Regions from separate parts of the Homo sapiens genome. Here region 2 is linked to region 1. Evidence: promoter capture Hi-C in 16 types of primary human blood cells and fetal thymus (Javierre and others, 2016). All regions are on one chromosome and are shown on one strand. Each heading gives the region's core, a stretch centred on a gene start or on the middle of the fragment in contact. The rest is flanking DNA. Distances are from core to core; before and after follow the strand shown. Region 1 holds the start of HDX (highly divergent homeobox). Region 2 overlaps HDX (highly divergent homeobox).

What was found. Contacts are between HindIII fragments. The CHiCAGO score rates a contact against its expected background, and 5 or more counts as called.
Region 2: a contact is called between a fragment that was not itself captured here and the fragment with the promoter of HDX in region 1, in 1 of 17 cell types (monocytes). The highest score is 5.6, in monocytes.

What each region holds. Positions count from the first base shown.
Region 1 is chrX:84,498,500-84,505,825 of GRCh38, forward strand. It overlaps HDX (highly divergent homeobox), which reads right to left and starts at 3,954. Exons shown (of 11, transcript NM_001177479.2): 1 at 3,843-3,954. RefSeq lists a silencer at 3,978-4,127. The HindIII fragment of the contact is 2,765 bases long and covers 1,743-4,507 here.
Region 2 is chrX:84,430,548-84,437,873 of GRCh38, forward strand. The region is part of intron 5 of HDX (highly divergent homeobox); the gene reads right to left. Among named protein-coding and RNA genes, the nearest start is that of HDX, 68 kb to the right of the region's middle. The HindIII fragment of the contact is 9,455 bases long and covers 1-7,326 here.

The DNA.
Region 1 (7,326 bases), core at 2,704-5,203:
AAGAAACCACCAATTTCAGTTTTAGCTCACTGACTCCACAATAAAATAAAAATCAACAATTCAAATTTTATTTATTCTGTTGGAGATTACACTATAAAAATATAATTCCCTCTGGAAGTATGATACAATTTTAAAAGCAGAAGGAAATAAATGTTTTTAAAATGTATTTTATGCAAATTTTCATGCTATATTTTTTCAATCAAGACTGAGAGAGTGTGTTTTAATAAAATATCTAAAACAAATGTAGGTATACACCATTTATTTGGGTAATCTTACAAATCTCTAACTTTGTAGAAGTAATATGGTGTTTATGGAATGTATGCACACACACACACACACACACACACACACACACACACACACACATCTCAGATTCCAGAGATTTAGATCCTAGCTAAAGCTCTGCCAAAAGTTCATTATATTGACCTTAGTCAAGCATAACTTGGTGATTAGAAGTCAAACCCGTGATTGGGTCTTGACTGTGACGTATAGTAGCTGTGTGGTCCTGGGAAAATCAACTGCTTTGAAATATGTTTTCTCATTTGTAAAATGGGAAATAATACTATACACTCTTTCATATAGATTTTGTGATGTTTAAATGTAATAAGATATATAAAGTTTTTAGCACAATGCCTGGCACTAAGTGCTTAATAAATATTAGTGTTTATTAATGCTAGTAAAGTACCTCACTTCTTTGGGCTTCAGATTCTTTACTTGTAAAATAAGGGGATTGGCTTATCACTATAAAATCTCTCCCAACTTAAACTCTACAACTTAAATGAGAAAACCCAATGTCATCCTCCCAGATAGAAATTGTAAAACAAGCCTTAAAAAACGCATGTCACACTCAGTTTTTTTCATATTTTATTTTGGGCTCTCTAAACTTAACAGCATATTTCTAAGCACCACATTCTATCCAGAGTTGCTTAAGTTTGATCAGTTTTCTCTATTGGTCTATGTGTAAATGTCTAGGAAAGTCTCAATTACTATGAAAGCTGGCTATAAGCTAAAACAGCTTTGAGGAGTTTCATATAATATAGGTAATCAGAGAAAAGGTCAAAGGATTTTCCCTTACAATGAATAACATTCATGGTTCACTTACAATTATCTACAATAATGATGTTCTAATTTACAGGTTAAAACACCCTTCAGACTGCTTTTAATCTATGTTTCTAAGTCAAAAACTTTTATGTGATATTGGGATGGTACCTCAAAGTGAGGCAGGAGCCAAAGTGAAATATGTGAAAAACCTCTGTATGAAACCATAATCACACTGTCATTCAAGTAAAACGAGCTCTGCAGAAGAATGCAATTTGAAGCCTGAAGGATAGGAAAGTGACAACCAATATATAATAGCAATTGTAACAACCATCACAAAGGTCATCTCTGATTCAAGAGATGTACACATGAAAACTATCAGGAATAATCAATATAAGATAGCAATTGTAGATAAAATGTAATAAAAAGTGAGTAATTTGTGTATTTTTAAAGATACATGATACAATGTCACCAAAGAGAAGTATAGAACAGTGGAATACCTCTTTATTTAGTATTTTTCAAACTGAGAAGATTACAGACAGAACCTCTTCTGGGATAGTGTTCCCTCCCTTGATCTTGTTTATGAGGACATGATATATTTGAAGGCCACCCAGTAAATAGAGATCTGTGTAATTTCTTTCCTCTGACTTAAATTCAGGTTTATTTAGTCATTGGAGGGTCTCTTGCCTGACCAACGATGAATAAGCTTTCACATGTATACAGTTCTCTCTATAAAAATACTGCTTCATTTCCCAGGAAATTGTTTTCTAGGGGAAAAAAAAAGAACATATATAGCTACAGCTATTTTGATTATTCAGTTAGGTGCTATGGGCAGATAATAAAGAAATGGATGTCATGGTCCCAACCCTTAAGGAAGGGTTTAAAATCCATTTGAGGATTCCAGTCTAACACACACACACACACACACACACACAACAACAACAACAACAACAATAACAAAGGAGACAATACAAAGCAGCCTACAAGCAACTAACAAAGACAATAATTGACGTGGGAATTCTAGGAAAAGTGAGGTCAGTAACACTTGCATTAGATTAATTTGGAAGGCACTTGTGGAGGGGTGGAATTTGAGTTGAGTTTCCAAAGTGGGTAAGATGTGAATTATGTAGAAGGAGGACATCCTACGTGGAGGGGACAGTAATGGTATAAGGAGCAAAGATATAAAGGTAGATTGTTCTCACTAACTGAACATTAAAGAGAGTTGTGCCCTGAAGAATAAAGGAAAATAAGGCTCCTGCATTACAATGAGGCCAGATTATGAAGTTCTTTAAAATTCGGGTGGAATTAGGCTTGAAACAATAGAAAATAAGGGGCCAAGAATATGTTGGTTAAAGAAAGTGATTTGTTGAAAGAAGTGTTCACAGACCACTAAGGATTTGGGGCACAGGTGAAGACTGCCTAGGAAGCTCCTACAGTGACTACATGGGTGCTGATGAGAATTTAGATTGTAAAGGAGGAACGTGTGAGAAGGCTTTCAAAGGAAAATTTACCAGTACTTGATAATCCCTTAACTATGAGAAATAGAGAAAAATCCAGATTCCTCTGTAAAATTGTCAGGAGTCTATGATCAGACTGTGGAGGGCAATTAATAACAATACTGTACAATCTATTCATCAATAATAGACAGGCAGGTTGTTCTTCATTGTTCCCCACAACTGCTGAGTAATAAAAGCCTTAATATAAGTAATATAACAGCCTTCCCAATGAAGGGGTGCGGGAAAGGGCTTCTCAAAATAATATTTGACTTCAGTGATTCTAGCAGAGACACAGAGGAAGAAGATGGACTCAGCACCAAACTTGATATGGAGACTAAATATTTATAAGAGATTGTCCCAAGAAGAGAAAAAGGCAAGAAAGGAAAATTTCTTACTCTGAGCCTCCACAATGGACTTCATTCTGAGTCTTTCCAAAGAATTTAAGGTTCAAAATCATTGTCACCTCAAATCAGAGCTCCTTTAAGATTAAAAGTTAGATTCATTTGAATAATTAGTGTTTATTTTTCCAAACAGTTTCTTATCTGATAAACTTCTATTTCACAAATTCTTCTAGAGTTCATTCCGTTATTCAACATCTAATATCTGGAAATTTAGAATGTGCCTTCTCAAATTTATAAGGCTCATTTTGAAGCTGGATTTACTCAGTAGGCCAGTTTAAACTAAATGGCAGATCTCTCCCCATCAACTGGTGCTTGAAACATCACAAGGCCTGGGATGTTCCCTGGGTCTCTACTTTCCAAATTCAGCACAGAAATGGCTCAGCCCCACCTCTTCCAGTGAAACCGAAACAGCGCCTGTGCAAACTCCACGCCTATTCTCCTCACAGTGACCCACCCCGCCCCCACCAAGGTGCTAATGCGCAGGCGCTACGCTCTCAGTGCCTTTGAGTAGGGCTGTGAGAAATCTACTGTCCAGTGAAATCTAGAAGTGGTAGAATTCAATCCCCTCCTTTCTTCGGAGGCAGAGGCGCCACTTCCTCCTACTACCCGTCCAGAAGCGCGTCCCAAACATCGCTCTCTCTCCGAGCAAGGTCCTTCGCTCTCTGGCAATCCCCATTGTATCCCTATCCGCAGCTCGTTTCTAATCTCACTCAGCCGCCAGCCTTCGCTAGGAGGATAGAGGCACTTGGCTCCCTAGGATCCGCACCAGTTTTTTGTCTGCCTGTTTAGGCCACGGAACCTATGGACCCCCCCACCCCCAACCTCGCCCCAAACTAGGAAAAGCATTATCCCGGTGCTTTGCCCTCCCTCCTTCGCCCTTCTCACCCACTTAGTGTTGAGTGCTTACCTCGGGTGTGGTGCGGTTACGAAAGGAATCAGCGGAACCCAGATCAGGCCGCTGCTGGGGCAGGCGGATTCAGCGAGATTTTTCCTGGGTCTCCAGTGCCGCTTCAGACAATGAAATCAGCGTGTCCGATCATCAATTCTCATCATGATCGTGACGTCACAAAAGACAGCGGCCAATGGGAGCCTGCGATCAGCTCAGGACAGTCCCTGGCCTCAGCCCAGAACCCAAGAGTTGGGAGGGGGGAAGAGAGATGGCTGCCTGCAACTGGACTGCCTCTTCCTCACACAAATCAGCTACATCTACGGCCAGGGCTCTCTATACCTTCCTGAATAGCTGTGAACACCGAGCATCCCTGTGACTATAGTAGTTACATGCCAGCCATTTGAGCAGGTGCTGCCTGGCCTTCCAACTTGACATTGGGTTTTAACAAAATTGTTACATGCTGCCAAAATCAAATGATAGCATAAGGAAATACAGTCCTTTGTGGTCAGTGTTCGATTGACAGGTAAATATTCAGTTTTACTAAAATCAATAAGGTGTCCATCGAGCCTTTAGAATTTTACAGTAAAAGCAAGTGTACTATTATACGTGACTGGTTGGCTCTGATGACTGAGGAAAGAAACTATGGTTTTTATTCATCCAACCTCAATTCCTATTCTGGCAGAAGCTTCTTGGGTGATCACCATTATACCATTCCAGAAAAGAAGTCAAGCCACATGTTACATCATTTAACAGTCACTTGATATACTTCCCAGATTTGCTGGATGCCATGAGAGATATAGAATTCATTGATTCTCTGCTATCATAGAACTTGCAACATCGTTTGGAAGACAAGATTAGCACACAGTAAATATTCACAACAATAAAATAAAGTACATGATCATGTGCTCAGTCATTAACTACAGACAAGAGCTACATTATTTAATTATTGGAGACATCAGTGAGGTGAAAAGTCAGGGAAGCATTTTATGTAATTAAAACTTGAGATGGTTCTTGAATGGTGGATAAGAGCAGATGGAAGTCACCGTCTTAAAGGGGAAAGATAGGCAAAGGTAGAGACGTATAAATTCATATGATGTGAGGAAGCCCATGATGAAATCAGCTTGACAAATAGAGGGCATATGCTGAGGACTAGTGGTAGATGGAATTGGCTAATAATAAAAGCCTTTGAAAATAGGCAGATAACTTTTATTTGATTAAAAGCCACCAAAAGCCATAAAGCATGTGACCTCAATCCTCTATAGTCAATTATCTACAGAGGAGTTTAGGTGATTTTTTAAAACAAAAGCCAGATTATGCTCAACTTCAGATTGTTCAATGGTTTCCTTTCACATATACAATAAAATGCAGATTTCTTACCATGTCCTCAAAGCCCTAAATGATCTGGCCTCCGCCATCTTTCTGACCTCACCTCCTGTCACTCAGCCACTAATTCACAAATATATTAATCTTCTATTTCTCAAACAAGTCAAGCTCATGTCCACAGCAGTGACCCTGTACTGTTGTACTGTCTGATCTTTATATGACTTACTCCATCACTTGATTGAAATCTTTGCTCAAATGCAACCTCTTTAAAGAGGTTTTCCTATTTAAAATTGTGATATCCTTAACACTCTCTATACCCTTTTTTCTGTTTCATTTTTCTTCATAGTATTTATTATTATTAAATGTATTTTATATATTTAGTTATTGCAAATGTAAGCTCTATGAAGGCAGGGATTTTTGTCTGTTTTGTTTATTATTATATCCCTCAAATCTAGAAAGCCTCTAAATACAAAGTAGACAAATAAGTAAGTACGTATTGAATGAATGACTGAAAGCACATTTTTCAAGTCATTAATTTGCATTTTCAGTAACATTGCGATAGGCTGGAGTGAGAGAGACCAGTTAGACAGTTGTAATGCTAACCCAGCTTCTAGGTGACACACCCCTAGATTAGGGTGTTAAAAATGATGAAATATGAGACTTTCAAAGAAGGAATTATATGGGTAAAGTGGAGGATTCAGAAAAAGCCTATTGATAATTGATTAACGTATTCATAAATTACGTTTATGAATTACCTGAAACTGAAGTGATATGAGAAAAAGGATCAGAGTCCCTACCCTTGAAGGGTTTATAATGCAAAGACACAAGAAGACTTGTATGAAATCACAGTACAAATAGAGGCAATTAAATTAATCCAATTTTTCCTTCCTCTTTTCCCCTCTCACTCTGTAGCTAAGCCACTAGTATGTTTGAAGACTGTACCTTCAAATTAGGCCCCAAATCTGAATACTCTGTACCTCCTCTATCACCGTTACACTAAAGTCACTGTAACTTCTAGTTTGAAATACTGCAAAAGCATCTTACATCGTTTATTTTCTTCCACTCTTGTCCTTCTTCAAAAGTTTCTCTTAACATCAGTCAAAATATTCTTTATAAAGTTTGAATCAGACCATATCACTACCTGATTTAAAGCCCTCCAAATGCATCTCATTACATTAACAATAAAGTCCCAAGTCCTTTCTATGGTGTATTTCCCACCATTTGTTCCTGCCCTGGCTCATTATGCTGTAGCTACTCTGGTCTTTTTGGTTATCTGTTTTCTCTCTGGAATGCCTATTTCCTCTTCAGAGACTTTGCATTTGCTATTATTTCTTGGGAAACTCTTTCCCCAGATCTTCACATAGCATACTTCACATAATTCAGGCTGTCTGCTAAAATGTTACCTTCTCAGATGGGACTTCATGGACCAATCAATTTAAAATAGCATTGCCCCACCACCACCACAATTATCTGTCTCCTGTATCTTCTTGCTGTGCTTAATTTTTCTCATATCACTATGGAAAAATACATTATTAGTTTTGTTGGTTAGTTATTTTGCCTTTCCCCAACAGAATGAAAAGTTCAAGGGGGTAGGAAGTTGCCTCTCTTATTACTGTTATATCTCCAGTACCTAGAGTTGTAGTGGTACCTAGCATTAAGTAGGCACTCAATGGGTCTTTGTTGAATGAATAGATAGGGGAGAGCATAGATTGTGTAGTGCAGTAATAGGTATTCAGGGATGAGAGATGTTTTCAATACATGCCTAAGATACCGGTACCTGTCCTGTTCACAATATATCAATTAAAAGCATGTTTATTGAACTTGTAAGTAAAAAGTATCTAAGTAGAATAATTAAACCATGGATATTAACCAAGATTTCAAAGATCTCAAAAGACTCAACAAACAAATGCAATAAAATGAAGTTTGACATGGATAAACAGTAAGTCTTGATTCTAGGTTTACAAAAATCAGTTGCATAAGTACAGGAAGGGCAATAAACACCTAAGTTGGGAAGTTCATCTAAAAATTCTGTAAATTCAATATGAACTGGTATAACAAAGCTGTTAAACAAGATAATTCATACTTAAACTACATTAATAAAAAGTTATTATCTGAATCAAGAGAGTTAAGGGTTCTACTAGTCTCTACCCTAGTCAGACCACACTTGGTCTCTTCTGTT
Region 2 (7,326 bases), core at 1,555-4,054, 69 kb before region 1:
GCTGGATCATATAGTAGTTTTACTCATATTTCTTTGAGTAACCTCCAGCTGTTCTCCATAGTGGTTGTACTAGTTTAAATTCCCACCAACAATTTATAAGAGAGATCTTTTCTCTGCATCCTCGCCAGTATTTGTGATTTTTTTTTTGGTCTCTTTGATAATTGTCATCCTAATAAAGTAAGGTGTTAATACATTGTGGTTTTGATTAGTATTTTCCTCATGATTAGTAATGTTGAACATTTTTTCATATACTTGTTGATGATTTCTTTCTTTCTCCCTCTTTCTTTCTTCTCTTTTTCTCTCTTTTTTTTAAATTTAACAAGTTTACACTTTTATTTTAGGTTAAGAATACGTGTGCACATTTGCTATTTAGGTAAGTTGCATATCACAGGGGTTTAGAGTACAGATTATTTTGTCACTCAGCGATAAGCATAGTATATGATAGGTAGATTTTTTATCCTCACCTTCCTCCCACCTTCCACCTTCAAGTAGGTACTATTGTCTGTTATCCCTTCTTTTTGTCCATATGTACTTGATGTTTAGTTTTCACTTGTAAGTGAGGCCATGTGGTATTTTGTTTTCTGTTCCTGTGTTAGTTCGCTTAGGGTAATGGCCTCCAGCTCCATCCATATTGCCTTTTTTTTTATGGCCACGTAGCATTTGATGGTGTATATGTACCACATTTTTAAATTTAGTCAACCATTGATGGGCACTTATGGTTGATTTCATGTCTTTGCTATTGTGAATAGTGCTGTGATGAACATACACATGCATGTGTCTTTATAGTAGAATGATGTACATTCCTTTGGGTATATACTAAATAATGAGATTGCTGAGTCAAATGGTAATTCTGTTTTAAGTTCGTTTAGAAATCGCCAAAGTGCTTTCCACAATGGCTGCACTAATAGACATTCCTACTAGCAGTGTATAAGTGTTCCCTTTTCTACACAACCTCTCCAGCATCTCTTATGTTTTGATTTTTAAATAATAGCTATTCTGACTAGTGTGAGATATCTTGTTGTGATTTTGATTTGCATTTCTCTAATGATTATGAGCATTTTCATATGCATTTTAGCTATTTGTATATATTCTTTTGAAAGTGACTGTTCATGTTCTTTGCCCACTTTTTAATGGGGTTGTTTTTTGCCTATAAACTTGTTTAAGTTCCTTATAGTTTCTTGACATTTAGATCTCTGTTGGATACATAGTTTACAAATATTTTCTCCCATTCTGTAGGTTGTCTGTTTACTCTGTTGAAAGTTCCTTTTGCTGTGCAGAAGCTCTTCAGTTTAATTTGGTCCCATTTGTTAATTTTTGGTTTTATTACTCTTGATTTTGGCATTTTCATCATGAAGTCTTTGCTCAGTCCTATGTACAGAATATTTCCTATGCTATCTTTCAGGGTTTTTATAGTTATAGGTTTTATATGTAAGTGTTTAATCCATCTTGAGTCGATTTTTTTTATATTGTATAAGAAAGGATTCCAGTTTCAATCTTCTACATGTGACTAGTCAGTTATTCTAGCATCATCTATTGAATATGGAATCTTTTTCTCATGGCTTGTTTTTGCCAACTTTGTCAAAGATCAGATGGTTGTAGGTATGCAACATTATTTCCGGGCTCTCTATTCTGTTCCATTGGTCTATGTGTCTGTTTTTGTACCAATACCATGACAGTTTGCTTATTGTAGTCTTCTAGTATAGTTTCAAGTCAAGTAATGTGATGCCTCTGGCTTAGTTATTTTTGCTCAGGATTGCTTTGGCTATTTGGGATCATTTTTGGTTCCATACAAATGTTTAAACAGATTTTTCTAATTCTGTGAAGAATGTCATAGGTTTGATCAGAATAGCATTGAATCTGTGGATTGCTTTGGGCAGGTGGCCATTTTGACAATATGGATTCTTCCTATCCATGAACATAGAATGTTTTTCCATTTATTTGTGTCATCTTTGATTTCCTACAGCTGTGTTTTGTAATTCTCATTGTAGAGATATTTCACCCCTCTTGTTAGCTGTATTCTTAGGTTTTTTTTGTGGTTAATGTGAATGGGATTGTGTTCCTGATTTGGCTCTCAGCTTGGATGTTGTTTTTGTATAGAAATGTTATTGATTTTTGTACACTGCTTTTGTATCTTGTATTCTGCTTACATTATTTATCAGATAAAGGAGCTTTTGGGCAGAGACTATGGGGTTCTTTAGGTATAGAACCATATCATCTGCAAACAGAGATAGTTTGACTTTCTCTCTTCCTACTTGGATGGTTTTTATTTCTTTCTCTTTCCTGATTGCTCTGGCCAGGACTTCCAGCACTATGTTGAATAGGAGTGGTGGGAGGGGGCATTCTTGTGTTGCTCTGGGTTTCAAGGGGAATGCTTCCAGCTTTTGCCCAATCAGTATAATGTCAGCATACCTGTTGGCCATTTTTTTGTCTTCTTTGAGAAATATCTTTTCAGGTTACTTATTTCTTTAAAAATTTGATTTTTTTTCTGTTGAGATGTTGCAGTTTTTAAAAATATTCTGGATCTTAATCTGCTGTTGGGTGAGCAGTTCACAGATATTTTTCCCATTCTTTAGGTTGACCTTTAACTCTGTTGTTTGCTTTGCTATGCAGAGACGTTTTAGTTTGATACAATCCGATTTATTTTTTCTCTTGTTGCCTGTGCCTTTGAGGTCTTATTGATAAAATGTTTTCCTGACCTGCTGTTTGTTCTATTTGTTGGGAAAATGTCCTGAAGCACACTACCTATGTTTCTTTCTAGTAGCTTTGTAGCTTGAGGTCTCTCATTTAGGTATTTGATCCATTTGTAGTTGATTTTTATTTTTTGTGTGAGAGGAGGTCTAATTTCATTCTTCTGCTGGTGAATATCCAGTTTTTCCATCACCATTTATAGAAGGCTTTCTTCTCCCAGCGAGTGCTCTTGGCACCTTTGTCAAAAATCATCTGGCTGTAAGTACGTGAATTAATTTATATGTTCTCTCCTCTGTTTTATGGTTCTATGTGTTCGTTTTTATATCAAAACCATACTTTTGTGGTGACTACAGCTTTGTAGCATATTTTGACGTTTGGTAGTGTGATGCCTCCTGCATTGTTCTTTTTACTCAGTATTGCTTTGGCTATTCTGGCTCTTCCTTGGTTCCATATAAATTTTAGGATTATTTTTTCTATTTCCATAAAACATTTCATTGGTACTTTGATAAATATTTTATTGAATCTGTAGATTCCTGTGGGCCGTATAGTCATTTTAATGATATTAATTCTTCCAGTCCATGAGCTTGGAATGTGTTTCTATTTATTTGTGTATCCTTCAATTCCTTTCATCAATGTTTTGTTTTTTTTAATTGCAGTTCTTTCAACTCCTTGGTTAAATTTATTTCAAGGCATTTTATTTCTTTCAGTTTTTGTAAATAGCATTGTCTTCTTGATTTAATTCTCATCCTGTTTGTTGTTTACGCATAAAAATGCTACTGAATATGTATGTTGATGTTGTATCCTGCAACTTTACTGAATTTGCTTACCAGTTTTAAGAGTTTTGTGTTTGAGTCTTTAAGTTTTTCTATGTATGAGATTACATTGTCTGTTAAAAAAGGATAATTTTAATTTGTCCTTTCCAATTTGGATGCCTTTTTTTTTAATCTTACCTAATCACCGTGGCCAAGACTTTTAGTACTATGCTGAATAGAATTGATAAAAGTGGGAATCTTTGTTTTTTTCCAATTCTTAGAAGAAAGGCTTTCACCCTTTTTCCATTCAGTATTATTTAGGCTGTGAATTTTTCATATATGACCTTTGTTGTGTTGAAGTATTTTCTTCTATATTTAATTTATCAAGAATTCAAATAAATAATGGATGCTGAATTTTATCAAATGCTTTTTCTGCATCTATTGAGATAATGTTTTTTTCTTCATTCTATTCATGTGATGTAACATATTTACTGATTGTGTATGTTAAACCATTCTTGCTTTCCTGGGATAAATCTCATTTGATCATGGCATATTTTTTGATATATTATTGGATTAATTTTGCTAGTTTTTTATTGAGGATTTTTGTATCTATGTTCTTCAGTGATATTGGCCTGTTGTTTTCTTTTTCGGTTGTATCATTTTATGCTTTTGGTATCAGGGTTATGCTGGCCACATAGAATATGATAGGAAGAGTTATCTCCACTTCGATGTTTTGGTATAGTTTGAGAATAACTGGTAATAATTCTTCTTTAAAGGTGTGGTAGAATTCAGTGATGAAGCCATTCAATCCTGGACTTTTATTTTTTGGAAAACTTTTTATTATTAACTGAATCTCATTATTTTTATTTGTCCCTTCAGATTTTCTTTACCTTCTTGGTTCAATGTTAGTAAGTCATATGTATCCAGAAATTTATTCATTTCTTTCAGGTTTTCTAATTTTTAGGCATGTTGCTGTTCATAGTAGTTTTAATGATCCTTTTTATTTGTTTGGTATCCAGTATGACATCTCCTTTTGCATTTCTGATTTTATTTCCTTGGGTCTTCTCTATTTCTTTCTTAGTCTAGTTAAGGATTTGTCAATTTTGCTTATCTTTTCAGAAAACTTTTTGTTTCATTGATATTTTATATATTTTTTAGTTTCCATTTCATTTAGTTCTCTGATCTTTATTATTTCTTTCCTTCTACTAATTTTGGATCTGGCTTGTTCTTGATTTTCTACTTACTTAAGAAAAATGCTTGCCATTCTAACTGGTGTGAGATGATATCTCATAGTGGTTTTGATTTGCATTTCTCTGATGGCCAGTGATCATGACCATTTTTTCATGTGTTTTTTGGCTGCATAAATGTCTTCTTTTGAGAAATGTCTGTTCATGTCCTTTGCCCACTTTTTGATGGGGTTGTTTGTTTTTTTCTTGTAAATTTGTTGGAGTTCATTGTAGATTCTGGATATTAGCCCTTTGTCAGATGAGTAGGTTGCGAAAATTTTCTCCCACGTTGTAGGTTGCCTGTTCACTCTGATGGTAGTTTCTTTTGCTATGCAGAAGCTCTTTAGTTTAATTAGATCCCATTTGTCAATTTTGGCTTTTGTTGCCATTGCTTTTGGTGTTTTGGACATGAAGTCCTTGCCCACGCCTATGTCCTGAATGGTAATGCCTAGGTTTTCTTCTAGGGTTTTTATGGTTTTAGGTCTAACGTTTAAATCTTTAATCCATCTTGAATTGATTTTTGTATAAGGTGTAAGGAAGGGATCATTAAAAAGTCAGGAAACAACAGGTGCTGGAGAGGATGTGGAGAAATAGGAACACTTTTACACTGTTGGTGGGACTGTAAACTAGTTCAACCATTGTGGAAGTCAGTGTGGCGATTCCTCAGGGATCTAGAACTAGAAATACCATTTGACCCAGCCATCCCATTACTGGGTATATACCCAAATGACTATAAATCATGCTGCTATAAAGACACATGCACATGTATGTTTATTGTGGCACTATTCACAATAGCAAAGACTTGGAACCAACCCAAATGTCCAACAATGATAGACTGGATTAAGAAAATGTGGCACATATACACCATGGAATACTATGCAGCCATAAAAAATGATGAGTTCATGTCCTTTGTAGGGACATGGATGAAATTGGAAACCATCATTCTCAGTAAACTATCGCAAGAACAAAAAACCAAACACCGCATATTCTCACTCATAGGTGGGAATTGAACAATGAGATCACATGGACACAGGAAGGGGAATGTCACACTCTGGGGACTGTGGTGGGGTGGGGGGAGGGGGGAGGGATAGCATTGGGAGATATACCTAATGCTAGATGACGCGTTAATGGGTGCAGCGCACCAGCATGGCACATGTACCCTAAAACTTAAAGTATAATAAAAAAAAAGAAAAATGCATTTTAACTTGATTATTTGATTTTTTTTCTAGTTTTTGATGTAGACATTTATTGCTATTAACTTGGCTTTAATACTGCCTTTGCTGTGACCCATAGGTTTTGGTATGTTGTGTTTCTATTTTCATTTGCTTCAAGAAATTTTAAAATTGTATTCTTATTTTCTCCTTTCACCCGTTAGTCATTCAGGAGCATGTTGTTTATTTTCTATGTATTTGTATAGCTTCAAATGTTTCTCTATTATTGATGCTCAGTGTTATTCCATTGTGGTCAGATAAGATATTTGATACGATTTTAACTTTTAAAAATGTGTTGAGACTTGTCTGTGTCCTAACCTATAGTTAATCCTAGTGAATACACCATGTGCTGATTAATGTGTATTCTGCAGCCGTTGGATGAAAATGTTTTGTAAATGTTTGCTGGGATTTTTTTTTTTTTGTCCATGGTGCAGTTTAAATGCATTGCGTGTTTTTGTTGTTGTTGTTGTTAATTTTCTTTCTAGATGATCTGTCCAATACTGAGAGTGAGGCATTGTAGTTCTCAACATTTATTGTATTACAGTCTATCTGTCCTTTTGGATCTAGTAATAATTGCTCTATGTGGGTCCTCCAGTATTGGATGCATATATATTTATCCAACTATATGCTGTCTACATAAATTCACCTCACCTGTAGAGATATGCATAGAATGAAAGTTAAAGGATGGAAAATGATATTCCTTGCAAATAGAAACCAATAGCAAGTATGAGTAACTGTATCTATATTGGATAAAACAAACTTCAGTAAAAAGCTGTAAAAAGAGACAAAGGCAAACATTATATAGTAATAAAGGTAATAATTTAATTCAAGGAGCAATCTTGAATTGTTTCCAGTCTACTTTGGTCACTACCTTAGGAGACTTTTTTTTTAAGAGACAGGACCTTGCTATGTTGCCTAGTCTGGACTTGAACTACTGGGCTCAAGCAATCCTCCCACCTCAGCCTCCCAAGTAGCTGGGACTACAGGCACATATAATCATGCTTGGCTTTTTAAAAACATTTTGCAGGCAGTCACCAGGTTATGTTTAACATGCAAGTCCTGGCCTACTTTTATTGGCTATGGTTCCAATAATAGTTCAACTTTCATAACTTCTGTGGTGTTATTTTCATCTGCTTGATTTACCTAGTTCCACTAGAGCTTCCAGTAATCCCTACTGGTGCCACCTAAGAGGACAGAAGGAGCTGATCTAGACCAGGCACATGTGAGGAGATACCTACCCCCATTGGTGTTGCCCAACAAACTAGTGTCCTTCGGTGGAAAATGGAATCTCCATCCTTCAGGAATACATAGCACACTTTTTAGACTAGTTGCCCATTGTGGCTTGTTCCCTCTTCCTGTTGCCAATAAGCCACTTTTATCTCTAGGTAGAGGAAGTAATTATCTTGCTTCCAGGAGTCAAGAGACTAAGCTACTCTTTGTGTCAGTATC